Linked DNA regions of Homo sapiens: region 1 is linked to region 2. Evidence: promoter capture Hi-C in 16 types of primary human blood cells and fetal thymus (Javierre and others, 2016). All regions are on one chromosome and are shown on one strand. The core of a region is centred on a gene start or on the middle of the fragment in contact, and the rest is flanking DNA. Distances in the headings are between cores, read along the strand shown.

Region 1 (3,648 bases), core at 647-3,146, 93 kb after region 2:
CCGGGCATGGTGGCATGTGCCTGTAATTCCAGCTACTCGGGAGGCTGAGGCAGGGAATTGCCGGAACCCGGAGGTGGAGGTTACCACGAGCTGAGATTGTGCCACTGCACTCTAGCCTAGGTGACAGAGTGAAACTCTGTCTCAAAAAAAAAAAAAAAAAAAAAAAGGCTGGGCGCAGTGGCTCACGCCTGTAATCCCAGCACTTTGGGAGGCCAAGGCAGGCTGATCACGAGGTCAAGAGATTGAGACCATCCTAGCCAACATGGTGAAATCCTGCCTCTACTAAAAATACAAAAATTAGCTGGGCGCGGTGGTGTGCACCTGCAGTCCCAGCTACTCGGGAGGCTGAGGCAGGAGAATTGCTTGAACCTGGGAGGAGGAGGTTGCATTGCAATGAGCCAAGAACGCGCTACTGCACTCCAGCCTGGCGACAGAGAGAGACTCTGATTCAAAAAAAAAAAAAGTTTTTTTTAATAGAGACAGGATCTCATTATGTTGCCCAGGCTGGTCTTGAACTCCTGGCTTCAAGCGATCCTCCTGCCTCAGCCTCCCAAAGTGCTGGGATTCCAGGTGTGAGCCACTGCACCTGGCCAACAGCCACCACTGTTGAGGGAGCTCTTGGAGTGCAACTTGGTGTGTGTGGTCTCATTTGTTCTCGAATGAACCCTGTGATATAGGCGGTCTTATCCCCATTTCACATGTGGAGAAACCGACTGCAGCAGGACAGAGCTGCCTGCTGGATTTAAAGCTACAGGGCAGGGGGCAGGTGGACTTTGAGCCCAGGTGTGTCCCTGGGCTTCCTGTTAGGCCCAACTCCAGGTGGTCCTCAGGGAGCTGAGGATTGGAGGGTAGTGGAGAATGCCTGATCCCCATCACAACCTGTCCTGGCTCCTCCTGCCTGTCTGTTCCTAGGTCTGCCATGGCACTCTGATGCCCTGGAATGGAAGGGACCTCTAGGCTCTGCCTGCTTGGCCCTGCCCTACCTCTGCCTGGCTTTGCCCACTCTGCCCTCCACTGTGGAGAGAAGGGGGTGAGGATTCCTTTCCCCTCCAAGAGCCAGCTGGGGAGTCAAAGGGGAAGCTTTTGCTAAGCACGTACTATGTGGCTGCTAAGTGCCTTACTTTCCTTATCCCACTTAATAGGAAGTCTTTACTAAGCAGGACTTATGATTCGTTATCCCCATTTTACAGATGAGGGAAACTGAAAGCCAGGGAGGTCTTATAAAAATCTCTGGCCAGGCGCGGTGGCTCATGCCTACTGTAATCCCAGCACTTTGGGAGGCCGAGGCGGGCAGATCACTTGAGGTCAGGAGTTTGAGACCAGCCTGGTTAACATGGTGAAATCCATTTCTACTAAAAATACAAAAAATTAGCTGGTCGTGATGGCGCGCACCTGTAATCCCAGCTACTCAGGAGGCTGAGGCAGGAGAAGCGCTTGAACCCAGGAGACAGAGGTTGCAGTGAGCTGAGATCGTGCCATCGCACTCCCGTTTGGGCAACAAAAGCGAAACTCCGTCTCAAAAAAAGAAAAAAAAAGAAAAAAAAATTTCTGCCAAGGGGCCGGCAAGGTGGCTTACGCCTGTAATCCCAGCGCTTTGGGAGGCCGAGGTGGGCGGATCACTTGAGGTCAGGAGTTCGAGACCAGCCTGGTCAACATGATGAAACCCCGTCTCTACGCCGGGCATGGTGGCTCACGCCTGTAATCCCAGCACTTTGGGAGGCCAAGGCGCGTGGATCACCAGGTCAGGAGATTGAGACCATCCTGGCTAACATGGTGAAATCCCGTCTCTACTAAAACATACAAAAAAATTAGCCAGGTGTGGTGGCGGGCGCCTGTAGTCCCAGCTACTCAGGAGACTGAGGCAAGAGAATGGCATGAACCTGGGAGGCAGAGCTTGCAGTGAGCCAAGATCACGCCACTGCACTCCAGCCTGGGTGACAGAGCAAGACTCTGTCTCAAAAGAAAAAAAAAAAAAGAAAGAAAGAAACCCCGTCTCTACTAAAAATACAAAAAATTAGCTGGGCGTGGTGGTGTGTGCCCGTAATCCCAGCTACTCGGGAGGCTGAGGCAGGAGAATCACTTGCACCCGGGAGGCGGAGGTTGCAGTGAGCAGAGATCATGCCATTGCACCCCAGCCTGGGCGATAGAGTGAGGCTCCATCTAAAAAAAAAAGAAGAAAAAAACCTCTGCAAAGACTCTCTGTGATGTCTACTGTTGAGTGAGAGCTGAGAGGTTGAGAGGTCAGGACAGCAGTGAACATCTTCCACTTTGGAGACCACTTGTAGCAGTGAAGGGCCCAGCCAGGCCCTGAGGGCATCCCTGGTGCCACTTTGCCCCACCTACACCATGACAGCCTGCCCTCCAGACTAAGGAATCAGCGCACGTTGCTGGAGCCCCTGCTAGGTATGAGGTGCCCAGGTGGGGTGACCACAAGCATGTGAGGAGCTGTCTGTGTTCTTGATGCTGTAGCTTTTGGTCAAGCTGAGACCTCTACACACGGGAGAGTGTCAATGACCACCTGCGAGGCAGCCCAAGGCCCTCCTGTAGCCCAATGGGCGTGATGTGGTTGGAGAAGGTGAAGGATGCTCTGGGCTTCCTGGAGGAGGGTTTGGGGAGAGCTGGGCCTTGAGGAAGCGCCTGGGGTCAGGGTGTTGCCTGCTCTCCTAGTTTGCTAAGTTATCCGGTAAGTATTTATCGAGCGCTCAAGCTTGCTAGCCTGCACCAGGCTCTGGAATGCACAGATGAAGACTGCCAACCCCTGCCTTGAGTGGGGCCCACAGGTGAGAAATCAGTGTTTATAGCCCAGGTCAAAGAAAGAGACAGACACATAGAGGAGAGGAACGTTTACTTATGAGGAGTAAAGGGGGTTCCTTTTCAGAAGGCCTGGCGGGGCAGATACAAAACACGGCAAGGATGTAAAGGAAAGCCTGACATTATCCGTTCTGCCATGGGAACCACAACGATTTCACTACCTTATCACAAAGGTCATGACTTAGCTTTAGGAATAGGCTTATTTTTTGTTAGGGAGTTCAGATTTATTTGTTTGTTTCTTTGTTTATTTATTTATGACAAGGTCTTGCTCTGTCATCCAGGCTGGAGTGCAGTGGCGGGAAGACGGCTAACTGCAGCCTTGACCTCCTGGGCTCAAGCAATCCTCCTGCCTCAGCCCCCGCAAGTAGCTGGGACTACAGGCGTGCACAATCATGTCCATCTAATTTATGTATTTTTGTAGAGACAGGGTTTCACCATGTTGCCTAGGCCGGTCTCAAACGCCTGGGCTCAAGCAATCTGCCTGCCTTGGCCTCCCAAAGTGCTGGATTACAGGTGTGAGCCACCGCGCCCGGCCAGGAGTCCAGGTTTATGGTGAAAACTCAGTCTTTCTTATTTTGAAGACTGGAACCAGTCAGGATGATTCTGTTATTTCGGATTTATGTCAGAGTACAAGTGTTTCCCTCTGAGCCCATCAAGCATGGGCCAAGGCAGGCTCAGATACTAAAAGCTGGGCACAGAAGCCCTTCTTGCTTTTGCCCCAGTGTGTGGAAGGCTGAGGTAGAGGGAAGCACATTGGATCTGGGAGGCAGGGACCCAGATCCAGCCAGGTTAGATCAGGGGAGGCTCCCAAGACTGGGTGGCGTCTGAGCTGAGGCT
Region 2 (3,630 bases), core at 1,131-3,630:
TAGTCATGCCTCTTCAGAAGGCAAAGGAGCCAGGCAGGAGCTCCTGCCTGGACCAGAGTTGGCCAGGCACAGTGGTAATCCCAGCACTTTGGGAGACTGAGGCAGGAGGATCGCTTTGGGCCAGGAGTTCAAGACCAGCCTGGGCAACATAGCGAGACTCCCTCTCTACAGAACATTTCAAAAGTAGCCGGACGTAGCAGCATGTGCCTGTAGACCTAGCTACTTGGGAGGCTGGAGTAGGTGGATTGTTTGAGCCCAGCAGTTGAAGGCTGCAGTGAGCTATGATTGCATCACTACACTCCAGCCTGGGTGAAAGAATGAGAGCTTATCTCTAAAAAAAAAATTTTTTTTTAATTTTTAAGGAGCCCAGAGCTTTGACAGTGTCCCTAAAGTTAAGGTGATGGGGTGGGAAACAGAAAATGGATCAAAGTGTCTCAAAATGAGCCCAATTACCCCTTTGGCTGAATTTGGCAACCCTGTTATACCTAAAGTAGGAACTGCAGCTACAGAGGATGTTCTTATGGGCACTGAACTCAAAGCCATTGACCTTGATGACCACGTCGCAGAGCTTGCCCTCTAGTCTAAGCTCGTTGAAGATCTCACAGGCCATCGCACTCATCTTCCTCTCCATGTGAGGCTGGTGGAAACGTGTGGAGGCCGCCGCGCTCTCCATCTCCATGGCACCCTGGGACAGCGGAGAGAGGCTGCTTTCCTAGGGTGTCGGGGAGGGTTGTGGGGGGCCCCTTTAGCCAGCTGTCGCTCCTTTTCCCTACTACATCTTTTGTATAGGGTCTATCAGGCAACCCAAGTTCCAGAATCCTGGCCCTGCAGTGAGATCACACAGGATTGTGCTCTCAGGTTCTGGAACTGCCTCCTGGACTTGTCCTCTTCCTTCTCCCCTCCTTACCACCCCACTTAGGCTGAAAACCACCTCACACCTCCTTCTGTGTCCTTGAACCCAAAACAGAACCATGACCACTAGCACCATCTGAGTGTTTATTGATTCCAGCTCCTGTTACTCACCTGATACAGGTCTCTATCCCTGGAGCATTCATCTACCTTCCACAGCCCAACACTTGGCTCCCTAGACACCGAACTCAAGGAAATCCAAGTCAATTGAGGCTGAAGGGAGAAGTAAAACTGATTAAATTTCTTTCTTAGGCCGGGCGCAGTGGCTCACACCTGTAATCCCAGCACGAGGTGGATGGATCACAAGGTCAAGAGATCAAGGCCATCCTGGCCAACATGGTGAAACCTCGTCTCTACTAAAAATACAAAAATTAGCTGGGCGTGGTGGCACATGCCTGTAGTCCCAGCTACTTGGGAGGCTGAGGCAGGAGAATCGCTTCAACCCAGGAGATGGAGGTTGTAGTGAGCCGAGATCGCTCCACTGCACTCCAGCCTGGCGACAGAGTGAGACTCCATCTCAAAAAAAAAATCTTTCTTTTTCTAGGGACGGGTCTCGCTCTCTCACCCAGGCTGGAGTGCAGTGGTGTGATCATAACTCACTACAGCCTCGACCTCCTGGGCTTAAGTGATCCTCCCACCTCAGCCTCCTGAATAGCTGGGATTACAAGTGCTCCGCACCGTGCCCAGCCAACGCTGATTACATTTCAGAAAGCTGTCCCGGGTCTCCCAGCCCGCTGGATGGGTTAGTCACTCAGTTTCTTCTGGAATGAGGAATGGCCTAGTTAACAGAGCCCTTTCTGGGTGATTAACAGAATTCAGTTTATGGCTCCTTCATCTCTCCTCCCATCCAGCCGTGTGGTTTTTCTGTTTTTGTTTCTGAGACAGGGTGTCATCTGTCACCCAGGGTGGAGTGCAGTGGTATGATCTCGGCCTACTGGAGCCTGGATCTCCCGGGCTCAAGTGATCCTCGTGCCTCAGCCTCCCGAGTAGCTGGGACTACAACAGGTGCGTGTCACCATGCCCGGCTAATTTTTGTATTTTTTGTAGAGACAGGGTTTCGTCATATTGCCCAGGCTGGTCTCGAACTCTTCGGCTCAAGCGATCATCCTGCCTCGGCCTCCCAAAGTCCTGGGATTACAGGTATGGGCCACCGCGCCCAGCCCCAGTCATGTTTTTGTCACAAACTTTCAGCCTGGAAATGACCACGTTTGGCAAGGCTTTTCCTCCACAAAGAGTGGCAGAACCCTACCTACCCACGTAACCCCAACACCTTGGGACCTTCACCCTGCTCTTCATAATAAATAGAACCCTCCTCCAGTTTGCCTAGCGCAACCGGCAAGCCCACCCGGATCGCGGCCATCTCCGGGACCGCTCGATTCTCGGCCCCACCCCCGCCCCGCCCCCGGCCCCACCAACCCCCGCCCGGGCTCCAGGCGGGAGGCGACGCCTGCGCAGTGCGGTCGCGGGGCTGTCGTTGTCCCGCGAGCCGCCGACCAGGCCTCGAACGGGATGGCAGAGGAGGTGAGGAGGGAGGAAGCGTCCGGAGTGGGGCGGGCCCGGACTCCGACCCCCGGGGCGCTTCGAGCCCCCCAGCTGGTCACCGAGGCACCGCCGCTTCACCCAGGCCAGTAGCCGCCCCCTCGCGCACCCCGGCCCCGCCTCACACGCGCGCCCGAGCGAGCCCCGGGCTCCCCTCGGGCCCAGCGTGGCGCAGGGGTCAGTGGTTCTCTCGGGTCTCGGGACAGGTGAGCACCCTGATGAAGGCCACGGTCCTGATGCGGCAGCCTGGGCGGGTGCAGGAGATCGTGGGCGCCCTCCGCAAGGGCGGCGGAGACCGGTTACAGGTACCTCTGGGGCGTGCGGGGGCCGGCCGGGCTGGGGGCGGCTGGAGAGGCTTCCTGCCCATTGGGCCTTCCCGCTTTGCTCTGCCGCGGACCCCTCCTAGCTCTCTGCCCCAAGAAATGGCCGGGAGCTTGAAGGAGAGCGGGTTGGTTCGCCTGTCCTAAAACCCAAATTTCAGATTTCTCAATATGGTCATGCTGCTTCCTCTAATTGGACAGAAGGCGCCCACACCAGTACCTAGGGCCTTATCCTCCCCAAGCCAGCGGCTCCCCAGTAAGTTGAAGATGTCCAGATGGGCCGTAATGGTAGAGATCTCTTAGGAGGGACCTGATATTGAAGGAGTCAGAGGGGTCCTGAGTATTCACCCTTGCCCCCACACTAGGAGACTGCGTTTTCCTCAGGGTTAACGGGTACTAATTAGGATCACTTCCCCTCTATCCCTCTGTGTCACTCGGTAACTCCCCTAGGGCTTTGCCTACATCCTGGCCACTGAGCTGTATTGATTTCCATAATCATCCCCCAGGCTGAGGCAGGGCCACACTAGAATTCTGGTGCCTATTTAGGCATCATCTCTCTTTTGCCTTATAGGTGATTTCTGATTTTGACATGACCTTGAGCAGGTTTGCATATAATGGAAAGCGATGCCCTTCTTCTTACAGTAAGTCACATTCTAGCTTCCCTTGTTGAGCTTGACAAGACGATGGGTTCTAAGGGACAAGTAAAAGGAGTTTTCTCTTTTTCCAGATATTCTGGATAATAGCAAGATCATCAGTGAGGAGTGTCGGAAAGAGGTGGGTTGCTCCCGTCCTTTGCTCAGAAATGGTTGTCATTTGCTACTTCAAATGGTTCCTGATTGGAACCAAAGATTCCAGTATAGAG

The links. Contacts are between HindIII fragments. The CHiCAGO score rates a contact against its expected background, and 5 or more counts as called.
Region 1: a contact is called between a fragment that was not itself captured here and the fragment with the promoter of NT5C3B in region 2, in 1 of 17 cell types (M1 macrophages). The highest score is 5.0, in M1 macrophages.

Annotation. Positions count from the first base shown.
Region 1 is chr17:41,741,052-41,744,699 of GRCh38, reverse strand. No RefSeq gene overlaps it. Among named protein-coding and RNA genes, the nearest start is that of HAP1, 8.2 kb to the right of the region's middle. The HindIII fragment of the contact is 1,627 bases long and covers 1,083-2,709 here.
Region 2 is chr17:41,834,982-41,838,611 of GRCh38, reverse strand. NT5C3B (5'-nucleotidase, cytosolic IIIB) reads left to right here and starts at 2,380. Exons shown (of 9, transcript NM_052935.5): 1 at 2,380-2,430; 2 at 2,655-2,753; 3 at 3,340-3,409; 4 at 3,496-3,542. The coding sequence starts at 2,419. It overlaps KLHL10 (kelch like family member 10), which reads right to left and starts at 787. Exons shown (of 5, transcript NM_152467.5): 1 at 486-787. The coding sequence starts at 679. RefSeq lists an enhancer at 1,777-1,856 and silencers at 2,277-2,656, 2,787-2,896. The HindIII fragment of the contact is 15,142 bases long and covers 1-3,630 here.